Regions from separate parts of the Homo sapiens genome. Here region 2 is linked to region 1. Evidence: promoter capture Hi-C in 16 types of primary human blood cells and fetal thymus (Javierre and others, 2016). All regions are on one chromosome and are shown on one strand. The core of a region is centred on a gene start or on the middle of the fragment in contact, and the rest is flanking DNA. Distances in the headings are between cores, read along the strand shown.

Evidence for each region. The method cuts DNA at HindIII sites, captures the fragments that hold promoters and counts their contacts. A CHiCAGO score of 5 or more calls a contact.
Region 2: a fragment that was not itself captured here is called in contact with the fragment with the promoter of CIROZ in region 1 in 3 of 17 cell types (endothelial precursors, M1 macrophages and M2 macrophages); the score reaches 7.0 in endothelial precursors.

Annotation. Positions count from the first base shown.
Region 1 is chr1:10,978,040-10,985,990 of GRCh38, reverse strand. It overlaps CIROZ (ciliated left-right organizer protein containing ZP-N domains), which reads left to right and starts at 3,915. Exons shown (of 13, transcript NM_001170754.2): 1 at 3,915-3,979. The coding sequence starts at 3,954. The HindIII fragment of the contact is 7,392 bases long and covers 1-6,605 here.
Region 2 is chr1:10,598,947-10,606,897 of GRCh38, reverse strand. It overlaps PEX14 (peroxisomal biogenesis factor 14), which reads right to left. Exons shown (of 9, transcript NM_004565.3): 4 at 7,532-7,660. Among named protein-coding and RNA genes, the nearest start is that of PEX14, 130 kb to the right of the region's middle. RefSeq lists enhancers at 3,383-3,882, 3,883-4,384. The HindIII fragment of the contact is 1,042 bases long and covers 3,422-4,463 here.

The DNA.
Region 1 (7,951 bases), core at 2,666-5,165:
GGGGTTTAGGGTATCAGATTAGGAAAGAAAACCTGTTTTTCAATTCCTGTTTCTTCTTCTCTTTTTAAGATTTAAACAACAGCTCCAGGGTGGTCCTTGCAGGTTCTCTGAGTGAGCTGTGTACCAGTGATGTTTGCCCTGGCTTTGGCGTTTCTGTTTGAGGCCTTATGAAGTGGGCCAGGGCATCTGGGCCTCCTCCAGGGCCCGTGAGGGTTTCACCAGCTGTGTGTTCTGATCCTGCCTGCTTCTGTTTGGTGTGATGAGGGCCTTTCACCTGAGCGTGAACAGATCCTGGTGACAACCAGCTTCCATGCACCACTCTGGGTCTCCACTTCCAACTCCATGTCTTCTTAGGCGGCTCATGATAAATCCCGAGCAATTTGGGATTAAAGGAAAAGTTGGTCAACAAAAAGATGAGTTAAAAAGAGAAACAGGGCTGGGTGTGGTGGCTCACGCTTGTAATCCCAGCACTTTGGGAGGCTGAGGCGGGTGGATCTCGAGGTCAGGAATTTAAGTTCAGCCTGGCCAAGATGGTGAAACCCCGCCTCTACTAAAAATACAAAAAATTAGCCAGGCGTGGTGGCAGGTGCCTGTAATCCCAGCTACTCGGGAGGATGAGGCAGAGAATTGCTTGAACCTGGGAGGTGGAGGTTGCAGTGAGCAGAGATCGTGCCACTGCACTCCAGCCTGGGTGACAGAGTGAAACTCCGTCTCAAAAAAAGAAAAGAAAAAGAGAAACAGGCTGGGTGCAGTGGCTCACACCTGTAATCTCAGCACTCTGGAAGCCTGAGGCAGGAGAATCACTTGAGCCTAGAAGTTTGAGACCAGCCTGGACAACGTAGTGGTATCTTTCGTACGGACCCCATCTCAGAGACCTCTGGTCTCTGTCTCTTGTTTGTTTGTTTTTTGAGATAGGGTCTTGCTCTGTCGCCCGGGCTGGAGTGCAGTGGTGTGATCTCAGCTCACTGCAACCTCTGCCTCCTGGGTTCAAGTGATTCTCGTGCCTCAACCTCCCGAGTAGCTAGAATGAGTGATATGCGCCATGATGCCTGGCTAATTTTTGTATTTTTAGTAGAGATGGGGTTTCACCATGTTGGCCAGGCTGGCCTCAAACTCCTGACCTCAAGTGATCTGCCCACCTCAGCCTCCCAATGTGCTGGGATTACAGGCGTGAGCCACCGTGGCTGTTCCCTCTGGTCTCTTTTGTCTCTAGAAAAAATTTAAAAATCATCCAAGCATGGTGGTGTGTGCCTGTATTCTCAGTTACTCAGGAGGCTGAAACAGGAGGATTGCTTGAACCCAGGAGGTCGAGGCTGCAGTGAACCGTGATTGCACCATTGCACTCATGCCTGGGTGACAGAGTAGGACCCTGTCTCAAAGAAAAAAAAAAAAGCCAAATCCCAGATATGTGGGAATGTGACCTTATTTAGAAATAGGGTCTTTGCTGATGCAATCAAGTTAAGTGAGGTCATACTGGATTAGGCTGGCCCTTAATCCAGTAATTAGAGTCTTTATAAGAAGAGGAAAATTGGGGCCGGGCGTGGTGGCTCAGGCCTGTAATCCCAGCACTTAGTGCCCCTGTACTCCAGCCCGGTGACAGAGTGAGACTCTCTCTCAAAAAAAAAAAAAAGAAAAAGAAAAATGTGGACAGAGACACCCAGGAAGAATACCATATGCTGGTGACGGAGGCAGAGATGGGAGTGATGCAGCTACAAGCCCAGGACACCCAGGACTGCCACCAGCCACTAGAAGCTAGGAAGAGGCAGGGAACGACCCTCCCCTGGGATCTTTAGAGAGATCGTGGCCCTGCTGACACCTGGATTTTGGACTTCTGGCCTCTAAACCTGGGAGATAATTAGTTTCTGGTTTTTTTTTTTTTTTTTGAGATGGAGTTTCGCTCATCACCCAGGCTAGAATGCAGTGGCGCCATCTTGGATCACTTGCAACCTCCGCCTCCTGGGTTCAAGCGATTCTCCTGCCTCAGCCTCCTGAGTAGCTGGGATTACAGGCGTGTGCCATCATGCCCGGCTAATTTTTGTAATTTTAGTAGAGATGGGGTTTCGCCATATTGGCCAGGCTGGTCTCGAACTCCTGACCTCAGGTGATCTGCCAACCTCAGCCTCCTAAAATGTTGGGATTACAGGCTCTCTTTCTCTCTCTCCCTCTCTGTCTCTCTTCCTGAGATACAATCTTGCTCTGTTGCCCAGGCTGGAGTGAGCCACTGTGCCTGGCTTCCTCGACTTTCAATAATGGCAAGTATTTGGGGCGGGGGGAGGAAGGGATAAACACAGATAAAATGGAATAGTTAAAATCAAGACTTTTTTTTTTTTTCACTTGCAAAGGGTATTAGGAACCATCTAGTCCTAAATCCTCATTTTGCAGGGATATTTGTTTGCAAGGGCTGCCACGACAGAGTACCACAGACTTGGGATTTACACACCAATTGATTTCTTCACAGTTCTAGAGGCTAGGAGTCTGAGATCAAGGTGCAGGCAGGGCTGGTTTCTCCGGAGCTGCCTCTCTGGCTCACAGCTGGCCATCTTCTCCCTGTGTCCTCACACCGTCATTCCTCCGTATGTGTCCGTGCCCTAATCTCCTCTTCCTTTTTTTTTTTTTTTTTGAGACGGAGTCTTATTGTATCGCCCAGGCTGGAGTGCAATGGCACGATCTCAGCTGTCTGCAATCTCTGCCTTCCAGGTTCAAGCGATTCTCCTGCCTCAGCCTCCAGAGTAGCTGGGATTACAGGTGCCCACCACCAAGCCCGGCTATTTTTTGTATTTTTGGTAGAGACAGGGTTTCACCATGTTGGCCAGGCTGGTCTCAAACTCCTGACCTGATGATCCACCCACCTCAGCCTCCCAAAGTGCTAGGATTACAGGCGTGAGTCACTGCGCCTGGTCTTTTTTTTTTTTTTTTTTTTTTTTTTTTTTTTTTTTTTTTTTTTTAGACGGAGTTTTGCTCTTGTCACCCAGGCTGCAGTACAATGGTACGATCTTGGCTCACTGCAACCTCCATCTCCCGGGTTCAAGCAATTCTCCTGCCTTAACTTCCCAAGTAGCTGGGATTACAGGCGTGCACCCCCACACCTGGCTAGTTTTGTATTTTTAGTAGAGATAAGGTTTCACCATGTTGGCCAGGCTGGTCTCGAAGTCCTGACATCAGGTGATCAGCCTGCCTCGCCCTCCCAAATCACTGGGATTATGGGCATGAGTGACTGTGCCCGGCCCCTTTTTTTTTTTTTTTTAGACAGGGTCTTGTTCTGTTGCCCAGGCTGGAGTGCAGTAGCACAATCAGGGCTCACTGCAGCCTCAACCTCCTGGGCTCAAGCAATCCTCTCACCTCAGCCTCCTGAGTAGCTAGGACCACAGGTGTGTGCCACCATGCCCAGCTAGTTTTTAAATTTTTTGTAGAGACAGGGTCTTGCCATGTTCCCCTGGCTTGTTTCGAACTCCTGACCTCAAACAATCTGCCCATCTCTGCATCCCAAAATGCTGGGGTTACAGGCATGAGCCACCATGCCTGGCCCCTCAGCTCCTTTTGAACTCTGCCAGGAGGGGCCTGGAGCAGGGTTCTGGGAAGCCCCATCAAGACAGCGTGACTGTTCCTCCGGTGAAGCTCAGTTTCTTAGCTTCTTTCCTTCCTTGGGCACAGAGACAGGCTTCTCCCGGGAGCGGAGAATGAGGGCCTGCACTCCAGCCTCAGTGGATCAATTCATCTTCAGCCTTCTGATCCGCAATCTTATTTTGAGCTCCCACGGCTGAAGCAATTCATCTCACCCATGCAGAGGGATGGGGAGAAGCTGAGAGTGTTGACACCCACCTGTGTTTTCTGGCACCTGAGTGACCCGAGACCTGCACTGGAGGGGAAGGGGAGGAGCCAACCTTTCGTTTAGTTGCTTGGAACTGCTTCAGATTAAATTCTCCCAGGGCAGGAGAGAGCTGCTGGGCCTGAGGATGTGGGGGTCCCCAGCACTTGCCTGGTAAGTGTCCCTTATTCAGGAATTGGGAGAAGCCAGTGGCATGCTTAGTGTGCCCACACTCCTTGAAGAAGCCAAATATCTTCCATCAGAATCAGAAGCCTTGCATCTAAGAGGGAAGGGGGCCAAATGGGTGAGGGGCCCAGATGCATGGATGCCTTGGGAAGGGCTGACTTTCTCAGGTGAGGTCCGGCCACAGTCTCTCCCACCTTTCTCATGCTCCTGTCATCCCTTGTTCTGGAATTCCAGTCCTCCCATCTTGGGAAGGATTTCCAGAAGATTGGGAGAAAACAGAACACGTCTTCCTTGTCCTAGAGGGTCCTTAAAACAAAACAAATTAGGGGTCAAGTTGACCAAGAGATGCTTGATTTCAAGGAGTTTTCAAATGATAGGAGTTGTGGTCGCTAGCTATTCGATTGTAAGGATTAGGAGAAAATTTCATTTTCCTTCCTTCCCTCCCTTCCTTCCTTCCCTCCCTGCCTTCCTTCCTTTCTCCTTCCTTCCTTCCCTTTCCTTTCTTTTCTCTTTCTCTCTCTCTCTCCCTCTCTGTCTCTCCTTCTTCCTGAGATAGAGTCTTGCTCTGTTGCCCAGGCTGGAGTGCAGTGGCAAGATCATAGTTCACTGTCATCTCTTAACTCCTGGGCTCAAGTGATCATCCCACTTTAGCCTCCTGAGTAGCTGGGACCATAGGCATGTGCCACCACACTTTGGTAATTTTTTAATTTTTTTGTAGAGACAGGGTCTTACTGTGTTGCCCAGGCTGGTCTTAAACTCCTGGGTTCAAGCCATCCTCCTGTCTCGGCCTCCCAAAGTATTGGGATTACGGGCATGACTCACTGCACTTGGCCAAAATCTCATTTTCCTTGGCAACAGAATTGCTACCTCTTTTCCCCATCTGAGATGCATTTTTAAGAGATACTTTAAAAAGCTCCTGAGAGTGGGAAGTGAAGCCTCCCAGGCCAGCTGGAATGTCACAATAGCTGGCTTGTGGCCTTTGGGCCGTGGACTGCAGGGCTTTTGTTGGGCGTTTTGTGAGGTTGAAGTCTGTAGACAATGAAGGCAGTGGAGAAGCTGAGTGGGGCTTTGTGGGGCTGGGCGAGCAAGGGGGAGGTCCGGGCCCTGTCCTGGGGACCCATTGCCTTCTCCTGGATGCCCCATGAGGGGGCTCAGCTTTGGGGGATGGAGCATCATGTCTCCCCCCAGACTGGGATGGGGCAGTTCTGGGTCTGAGAAGTGAGGGGGAAAAACCCAAACCCACATCTTTCTCCCGATTGATGCTCAAGGAGGAGAACAGGAGCAGGCATCAGACGGAGGGGAGAGCTGTCTACCCCCCACCTGCCACCGGGCCGATTCCAGACAGCATTCCCTGTGTAACAGCAGAGTCGGGGTCCCTGGCAAGGCCGGGACTCAGCACCAGAGTCAGCCACTTTCCTTTTCCCCAAGATTATTCTTCTGGTCCTGTCTCAGATTTACTCGCTCTGGGAGAACCTTCCTTCAAGACCAATTGCCCCAGCCAGGTTTTTGTTTTGCAAATTAATCAACTAATAATAGCGCCTCCCCGCTGCTGGGAGAGGAATTCCGCATTGGGCTCAGTGTCCAGGCAGCAGAGCCCAGGGCGGGTACCCGGCCGTCCATGGGAGAGGCTCGCCACAGGCGCTTCTGAATTCAGCGAATGAAGCGGGGCAGCGGGGCAGCCAGGCAGCCGCAAGCTCCTCCCAGCTCAAAGGCTGCAGGCTCAGCTTAGATTCCAGGCTGGGGAACCAGTCCTGTCATTCTTTGCCAACCCACTCTGGGGAGACTGTGGGCCCTGGCATTTGGCCTCCCTGGGCTGGGCCTGAGGCCCTGGCCCTCTGCCCACCCAGGAATCGAATGGCTCAACGAGGGCAGCCCTAGAAGGAAATGCAGCACCCATTCCTGCCTTTTCACATTGCTTTTTAAACTGTTAACTTTCTTTCTTTCTTTTTTTTGAGACGGAGTTTTGCTCTTGTTGCCCAGGCTGGAGCGCAATGGTGAGATCTCGGCTCACCACAACCTCCACCTCCCAGGTTCAAGCGATTTTCCTGCCTCAGCCTCCTGAGTAGCTGGGATTACAGGCATGCGCCACCGCACCTGGCTAATTTCGTATTTTTAGTAGAGATAGGGTTTCACCATGTTGGCTAGGCTGCTCTCAAACCCCTGACCTCAAGTGATCCGCCCGCCTCCGCTTCCCAAAGTGCTGGGATTACAGGCGTGAGCCACTGCACCCGTCCAATAGTAGTTTCTTTCTTTTCATTGCAGTTCAGTATTCCATTGTAGGAGTAGACCACAATGGGTCCATTCTACCACTGCTGGGCGCTGGGGTGGTTTCCAGGTTACAGGAAATAATAGCACTGCTGTCAACAGTCTTGCACGTGTCCTCTGATGCCCTTGTGCTTGCCTTGCAGTTGGAGAGGAAGCGCTGGGTCGAAGGGTGGAGGAATGTTCAGTCTTAGTAGATTCTACCAGTTCCCAAGAGTGGTTGAACCAACCTCACTCCCGCCAGGAGGCAGGAGCTTTCTCAATGCTCCACATTCTGCCAATCTCTCCCTGTCATTCTTTCTTTCCAGCTTCTGGCTTCAGGATTATTTCCTGAACTCCTCTAAGGAAAGCTTCTTTGTGGGAAGTTTAGGTTCTTGCCTGCAGTCATTTTAAATAGTTGGAGTCTCAGCTGCCCGAAGAGTCTTTTAAAATGTGAGATCCTTGCCCTGGGTGCGGTGGCCCACACCTGTAATCCCAGCATTTTGAGAGGCTGAGGTGGGCGAATAACTTGAAGCCAGGAGCTCAAGACCAGCCATGGCCAACATGGTGAAACCCCCGACTCTACTAAAAATACAAAAATTAGCCAGGCGTGGTGGCACACGCCTGTAATCCTAGCTACTCAGGAGGCTGAGGCACGAGAATCACTTAAATCTGAGAAGCAGAGATTGCAGTGAGCCGAGACTGTGCCACTGCACTCCAGCCTGGGTGACAGAGTGAGATACTCAGTCTCAAAAAAGAAAAAAAAAGTGAGATCCTCTTCCTTCCCTGCTTAGAGTTCTCCAGGGCTTCCCACAATTTTTTATGGTAAAACCCCAGCCTGCACCCCTGGCCATGGCTCCTGCCTGCCCCTCTCCTTTTTGCCCACCAGCGGCCCCTCTGTCACTGGCTCTAGTTCCACTGACCTTCTTTTGAGTCCTTAAACACAAACACACCAAACTCATTTCCGACTGTTTGCTGTGCACTGACTATTTCCTCTGCTGAGGAATGCCCTTCCCCAGGTCTTTGCATGGGACTCTTTCTTTTTTTTTGAGACAGGGTCTCGCTTTGTTACCCAGGCTGGAGTGCAGTGGGACAATCATTGCTCATTGCAACCTAGACCTCCCAGGCTCAAGCAATCCTCCCACCTCAGCCTCCTGAGTAGCTGGGACCACAAGCGCATGCCACCACACCAGGTTAATTTTAAAATCTTTTTGTAGACATCGAGTCTTGCTATTTTGCCCAGGCTGGTCTCAAACTCCTGGGCTCAAGTGATCCTCCTGCCTCAGTCTCCCAAAGTGTTGGGATTATAGGCATAAGCCACCATGCCCAGCGGGACTCCGTGACATACATACCATCTTGGTTCAACTGTCACCTCTCAGTGATGTTTTACCTGACATAAAGAAATTTGGGGGCTCGGTGCAGTGGCTCACGCCTGTAATCCCAGCACTTTGGGAGACTGAGGTGAGTGGGTCGCTTGAGCTTAGGAGTTTGAGACCAGCCTGGGCAACATGGTGAAACCCCATCTCTACAAAAAAAATACTAATAAATTAGCCGGGCGTGGTGGCTAACTTTTTTTTTTTTTTTTTACTGTGGAGTTTTGTTCTTGTCACCCAGGCTGGAGTGGTACAATGTCACGCTCTCAGCTCACTGCGACTTCCGCCTCTCGGGTTCAAGCGATTCTCCTGCCTCAGCCTCCTGAGTAGCTGGGATTACATGCGT
Region 2 (7,951 bases), core at 2,693-5,192, 380 kb after region 1:
TATTTTACGTAAATTACATCTCAATAAGACTTTTAAAAAATAAAAAATCCATTCAGAATTTTTTTTAAAAAAGAGCTACAGGAAGTCAGGAGTGCTTGGGAACACTACCCAGTGGTGTAGGCTCTAAGTTTTCTCTCTGCACAGCTTGCAGCTGGGACCAAGAGAAGAAGCCAGACCTGAGAATTCTAATGCAACTTTAAAAAACATACCCTGTAATATTTGACACATACAAAAGAATATAACATTTATTTAAGTTATAAGAACAGGAATACAATGAGCAATTCTAAACCTGCCTAATTTACTAGCTAGAACTTTCCAAATACCACTGAAGCTAGCCATGTGTTCCTCCCCAGCCCAGAGGCAACCATTATCCTAAACCCAGTATTTATCAGAACTCAAACCTCCTATGGGATATGGAAAGCTGAGGACATGTGCTGACGAGATCAGGACTACATCTCAGCCTCACTCGCAGGCAAGGATAGCCATGCAAGATCCAGCCAATGGGGAGAAAGTGGAAGGGACATGGGCAATTTCCAAGAGGTGTCCTTAGAAGGCAGCCTGCCCTTTTCCCGCTTTCTCCCCGCTCTCGCTGGCTGGACAGCAGGTGGGATAGTTGGAGCTGAAGCATTCACACTGCACCACGAGACGGATGAGAGCCAGTCAGGAATGCAGAGCAGTGAGGCAGAGTAGGGTTCCTGCAGACCACAGAGCCTCCTGGCAGCCTGGGCTGCCTACATTTATGTAATAGAGAAAAATTCCTCTCTCTTTAAGCCACTCTTGTTTGGAGTTCTCTGTCACCTGTAGCAGAATTTTCTAAAACTAACACACTGTCAGCACAGCCAGAATCCTAACTGCCATCAACACCAAAGACTTGTAATGGTCCAAGAAACCTAAGGAAAGGATCACTTCATTTCGGTTCCTTCCCGTGATACTTACCCTCTTCAACATCCGCGAATGGCATTTATTCAGCCCCCATGTGGCACCACACCAGGCAGAACACACAGCAACAAAATGGAGAGGGTGCTTGCTAATCCAAACCGGCACCACGGACAAAAGAAAACACAATTTCCTCAAAATTAAAGAAATACTTTCTTCATATACAAACCAGTAACTTTCAGGTAGCAAAAAGAGAGATTTGTCTGCTAAACCAGCAGAGAAAGAAATGGAAGCATGAGAGAGAAATGGAAGAGACAGAGAGAGAGGTGGAGGCGACATTTGCTATTTTGCTTTCTGACGGGAACCCCGAGGCCACCCATGCATGCTTTCTGTTTACTGTCACCTCAGTATCACTTACGCACAGGCCACCCTGGCCCCGGGCCTTTGCTGTTCCCTCTCCACAGTGATGTCTTCCTTGACACCTTGGGTCTACCTTATGGCTGACTGATCTTCAAAGCCAGTTCAAGTCCTGCCCCTTCTAGAAAGCCTTGCCTAAGACTAGCGTTCTGGGAATTTCCTTTGTTCTCAAATTCTGAAAGCTCTCAACATTCTCACCATGCAAGGTGACGTGGGATGGTCTTCCCTGTCTTTCTCCAAGCAATGGAGGGCTTCCCTCTACGATGAACAGCAGCTCCTGAAGGTGGGTCCCATCCCCTACTTCTTCCATAGCTTGCCCAGAGCAGTCTGCACCAGCTGGGCTCACAGACCGTATCACCGACCGACCACCAGGGCAGCTCGTCCACATGATAGCCCTTCCATTCTCAAGCACATTTCCACCCCTGTTAATCCATTCCACAAGCATTTCTAGAACACCTGCTCAGTCAGAGCCTCAGGCCACTAGATTTTTTTAAGCCTCAGAACTCACAGTTTAATAGGGGAGACACTGGAATAAATGTTTAAGTGCAGTGGGGCGGGGTGGGGAGTCTAGGGGCCTGAGGGGAGCTTCCCTCCAAGTCAGAATGGAGGCACTGGAAAGACTCCCTGGAGGAGCGAGTGCTGGCCCAACCATGGAGAACAACAGTGAGCACACAGGGTAGGCACTACAGGCTCGGCACAAGAACAATGGCCTCCGGCTGATGCCCCCCCACCCATGTCTCCCCTAACTAACCTCATGGCACCTGCTGAGATGATACAAATAATTTTAATATTAATCTAAGAATAAAATGGCCAAATAGGTCGTATGGCACAAAAATAATTAGATGATGCATTTCAAAGTAAAACATCACTGTGCTTTTGGCTGTCCTCTGTCGGAGCTGACAGAGCCACCCTTTCTCCAGCCATTTCCTCTGACTCTCATCCCATGCTCCAGCCACTCTGAACAACTCAGAGTTTCTTTCTTTTTGGTTTTTTAGAGGCAGGGCCTTGCTCTGGAGCCCAGGCTGGAGTGCAGGGGTACAACCATGGTTCACTGCAGACTCGATCTCCTGGGCTCAAGCAATCCTCCCACCTCAGCCTCCCAAGTACACGCACCACCATGCCTGGCTAGTTTTGTTTTTTAAATTTTTTTACAGAGATGGCATCTCACTATGTTGCCCAGGCTGGTCTTGAACTCCTAGCTTCAAAGTGCTCCTCCTGTCTCAGCCTCTCAAAGAGTTGGGATTACAGGCGCCACGTCCAACAACCTGGAGTTTCTTAAATTCATCAGTTTCACATCTATATGCTTTTGTGTTAGCCTGGAATGCTCTTGTCTATCCTGTCTGATCACTGAACCAAGCAGCCCGCCACATCCAGTTAGACATCTGCTCTCTGAAGCTTCCCGTCGCCTCTTCTGTGCCACCGTCCTCACCGGGACCACCTGACAGGCACTGCTATGTTGGCCTAACCGTCTTTCCTACCAGACGGGAGCAACCAGAGAGAGCGACCAGGTCTTGTTAGTCTCTTTAGCCCAGGGGTCTGGCACACAGTAGGCATTCAATAACAATGCTTGCTCAGTGAATTAAGATAACCACAGATAAGTTTGTGTTACTACACAGGGCTACAAAAGAAATAAACAGAGGAATAACTCACTCTCTCTCAGGATTTCTAATCAAATGGTTCAAAACCTTTCACCGGCCTCAGATGCTGACATCCTATTTTGAGAAGAAGCAACTGAAGCTCTAGGTCAGTCTTTGAAGGGGTTTAAATTGTTTATCAAAGACAGTGGAGGGAAAATGTTCAAATCTAAGAAGAAATTATTATCCTACAAAATTTACACTGGTCCTGCTTATATCTCAAAGCTTCTTGGTCTCTCTGGGAGGACGAAGACAAATCAGCTTGGCGTGAATCAATCAACCAGCATTTATCAGACCTCTGCTCAGGACTGGGCTAGGCCTGCACCTATACACATGCACTGACTCCCGATGTAAAGCCAGACAAGAAACCAAAATGAGAAATGGAGAATTTCAAATCTTCTCTCGAATCACAGCCTGACTTCTCCTGAACTGTACCAACTTTCTTCTAGCCCCCGAGAGCACTGGTTTATGCTCACACCAGGTGACACCAAGCTTCCCCTTGGTGCCAACCTCCTATCACTTTCACAAAAGCCTTCCCTGACTCTAGCCCACATTAATTCTTCTCTTTTCTATATTTCAGAATTTCAGAATTTCTTGTCTGTATAATTAATTTTGGCATTAAATCACAACATCTTATATTATTATCCTTTTCTTAAGAGTTTATCTTATCTTTCCCAAAGAGCTTAGCAAGATGCTTAAAGATCAGGTTTTGGATCTCTCGCATGATATAGTACTGACCGTATAGTAGATGGTTAATAAAAATACTGAGAAATTGAACTGTTACTATTTGGGCAGGTCTCTACGTTCTCTCTGCCAACACTGGCATTTGCTAACATCTCAAGGTCAACCACATTCACCAAAGAACAGAGATGCCAAAAGAGGCACTCAGTGGCACACCTGCCACTGAGCAGGTGGGCCAGCAGGTTCAAAGGTGAAGAGCACTGGGCTCCCTGGGGTGGTCTTGGAAAAGCTACCCTACCCTGAGACCTGAGTGTTTGGGGCTAGGCCCAGGGGATCCCATTTTCTAGCCTTGGGCTCAGAGATGGAATGTCCGTAAAAAGCCAAGAAATGGGAAGGAAAAGGCTGCCGGGGATCTAGATGTAAAATCGGCAGGAACACACATGAATAGAGGCCATAAATCCCTCCCGACGCAGACAATGCCTCAGTGATAAGCATGCAGATTGTGCACCTAGTTCAGAAACTCCCCTGAGTTTGCTTGTAATTAAGGGGGTTAGAAAAGTAAAAAAATATATAAACCCAATTAATCATTTAAATATTTAAAGTCAGATTTTTCCCTCACTCCAGGATTAGTATATTTCATAATGCCAGCAGCAGACAGCCCTGGTTTTTACTGGGGTTCATTTTGGAGCATGTTTAAACTAGTCAGATTGAGTGATGCTTCCAGCAACTAATCGCATGTCAAATAAAAGATATTTTATGTAATAAATTACCGCTACAAGTAATTCAAATGTCATTTATCAGTTTTATTATCAGTCAGGCAAAGTCTTGTTTCTCTATATTAATCAAAATCAAGCTTTTTTTTTTTTTAAGCAGTTTTGACACCTCTTGGCAAAAGTACAGAAGTGAAGAGGTAGAGTCACCCCCGGAGTGAGAGGAGCAATGTAACGGTATGAGAAGAATGAAGCTCAATGATGACAACTAAAAACTTCAGGTATTTAAAATTATCATTACCATTGTTTTTACACTAGTGTCAAAGCAGGAAGAAGTCTGTGTCTAAGAATGTGTATTTTATTTTTAGGGGCTGGAAGGCTCTTAAAAATATTCCTACCTAAATACCTCAACGTGTATTGCTTTTTCTCAGAGCGATCTGGACATGAGTATGATTTAAATAACTGAATTGCCCCTCCCCACCCCATTCTTTTGCCTCTTTCAGAAAGACTAACAGTTTAACCCTTTGTGTCTATGGAAAGTAGGTGAACATATGATGTTTTAGGCCAACTCTGTGATCAACCAGAACAATTTGTTCTGAGTAAGAAGTTTCCAAGTAGCCGAGAGACCTGTTCGGTATTAAGCCACTGGAGGAAACAGCTGGAACAGAACAGATGTGCATCTTAGAAAATTCTGCACCCCAGCTGCCGCTGCCTATCCTCAACAAATCCCATTACACGGCTGGGCCCAGGGACACAACTAAAGAAAAAGTGTGGAGACTCAGCCTTTGGTTAAAAAGAAGCACATAAAGTCAGCTTAGGACCCAAAGCAACTACAATGGATTGGAAAAAATGCTGGCCAGGAAGGAGAAAGGAGCCCCAAGCTGACAAGTCACAGGTGCTAACCCAGTAGCCCAAATACAGGACAAGGCTCACCACTGAAGCTCTGCAACCTGCAGTGGGTCACCCATGCAAGGCACTGACAGATTGACACACTTGAGCACACACTCCCTGGCCTCCCCCATTCAGCCTTCTGTGGACAGCCAAAGGAGGAGATCTCTAAATAAGATCCGTAACACAGACAGCAGATTCCAACCCACTGGCTGGCCCTTCAGCAAGTCCGGAGAAGAGAAGGCCTTTTTGGCTCTACTGCCAAGATCACACCTGCCTAGCTGCAGCTGAGCTGGATGAAAACAGTGCTGAGGTGAGGGAAAGAAGGCAGCTTCAGACCAGGTGCTGGGGGATCAAAACGAATCTGTCATTTTAAAATATGCCTTTTAAAATCTGATATCTAACACTTTTTTTTTTTTTTTTTTTTTTGAGACAGAGTCTTGCTCTTGTCACCCAAGCTGGAGTGCAATGGCATGATCTCAGCTCATTGCAACCTCCACCTCCTCGGTTCAAGCGATTCTCCTGCCTCAGCCTCCTGAGTAGCTGGGATTACAAGCACCCGCCACCATGCCCAGCTAATTTTTGTATTTTTATTAGAGACAGGGTTTTGCCACATTGGCCAGGCTGGTCTCCAACTCCTGACCTCAAGTGATCCGCCCGCCTTGGCCTCCCAAAGTGCTGGGATTACAGGCGTGAGCCACCGCGCCCGGCCTGTCTGTTTTTTTGAGATGGAGTTTTGCTCTTGTTGCCCAGGGTGGTCTCGAACTCCTGACCTCATGATCCACCCGCCTCGGCCTCCCAAAGTGCTGGGATTACAGGCGGGAGCCACTGCGCCCGGCCTTAAAATCTGATATCTAACAGTTTTAAATCATTTTTTGCAAAAATAAAACTTCTGAGAATAACAATTATAGAAAAGGCATTTTGAGAGATCACAGATCCAGTATTGAGTTTCTTTATTTTATTTTATTTTTTTTGAGACAGAGTCTCACTCTGTCACCTAGGCTGGAGTGCAGCGGCGTGATCTCGGCTCACTGCAACTTCCACCTCCTGGGTTTAAGTGATTCTCCTGCCTCAGCCCCCTAAGGAGCTGGGATTACAGGCGTGTGCCACCACGCCCGGCTAATTTTTTGTATTTTTAGTAGAGACACGGTTTCACCACGTTGGCCAGGCTGGTCTCGAACTCCTGACCTCAAGTGATCCGCCTGCCTTGGCCTCTCAAAGTGTTGGGATTACAGATGTGAGCCACTGCACCCTGCCTGTTTGTTTTTTTGAGGCAGAGTTTCGCTCTTGTTGCCCAGTCTGGAGTGCAGTGGCACGATCTCGGCTCACTGCAACCTCCACCTCCCGGGTTCAAGCAATTCTCCTTCCTCAGCCTCCTGAGTAGCAGGGATTACAGGCGCCTGCCACCACATCTGGCTAATTTTTTGTATTTTTAGTAGAGACAGGGTTTCATCATGTTGGCCGGGCTGGTCTCGAACTCCTGACCTCAGGTGATCCACCCGCCTCAGCCTCCCAAAGTGCAGGGATTAGAGGCGTGAGCCAACGTGCCCGGCCCAATGCTGAGTTTCATTAAAGAAACAAAATGGAGCTATTTTCCATAACTTTGTAGTCAATTTTAGCCTTTTTAAACTTTTTATAAGTGATTTCAAGGAGGGCTTCTGGCTGCATTTTGGAGGTATGCATTTATAACTTGTTTGAAGAAACTTTATTCCTATAGTAGCTTTCATTTAAGACAACGAAAGACCCCTCATGGGTCATGATCTCGTATAATTAAAAGAAACATTCAAAAAGGAACTTCATGTTTTAACCTGAAATTCCCTAACAGACCGCTACTACATAAACGTACAAAGTATAGCCAGGACAAGGGAGGGAGGGAAATGGAGGCTGACCTAAACTTACAAATATTAACTTAAAAAAATAGAAGTGGGAGACAGGTTATTGCAGTGAGCAAACAAGAATGCACCCATGAGTCAGATGGTCACGCTGTTTTTAGTGAAACAGTAACATTCAAAAGCACTGGTATGAGGAGATGGGAACAGAATCAATAAATAGTTGTACAGGTTTTCTGCATGTAACCAAAATACCTGAAACAACAATAAAATCATTTATTCTGATCCCTTGTCTCTTCTTAAACCTTTGTCACATACTTTAAAAAGTTTGTCTAGAAGACTGGGGTGTGTCACATTCCTTGGGAAAAACCCAAGAGCTTTCTGCTGCTCCCAGTTTCTCCTGGTTTGCTAAGTCTGGGAGATACAGAACACTGCCCTTTGGCCAGAGTCCTGAATCCCAATCAAGGTTAAGCAGGAGTTTGAGCGGGTGACTTACTGTATGGCTGAGATATGAGGTGAGGGGGCTGGACAGGAACCACCTGTGTGGCTGGGCCCAAGGACGAAGGCTCATCGGCAGCAGTGCCCGACTGCTGGAAGGCCATATCAATCTCTTCATCTGTCAGCCCTGGGGAGAAGAGGACATCATTGCAGGTGAGTACCTTTTGTCAGTGTCCATAGCTGCAACAGAATCTTCACTGAGCAAAGACCTTTACAGCCACAGAATGCCTCGCATCCTAGTAAGTTGCCTCCCCGATTTCAGATTCTCCGGAACCTCTCTCAGTTGCAATTTAACCTTAAGCGACAGAATATTAGCCTCAACACTGCTTCCAAATGTGGCTCATTCAATTTCCTTAATTTATCCTTGAGTTTATTGCTGCTTTTGAAGTCGCTCGGTACTGCAATTCTCCATTCTTCC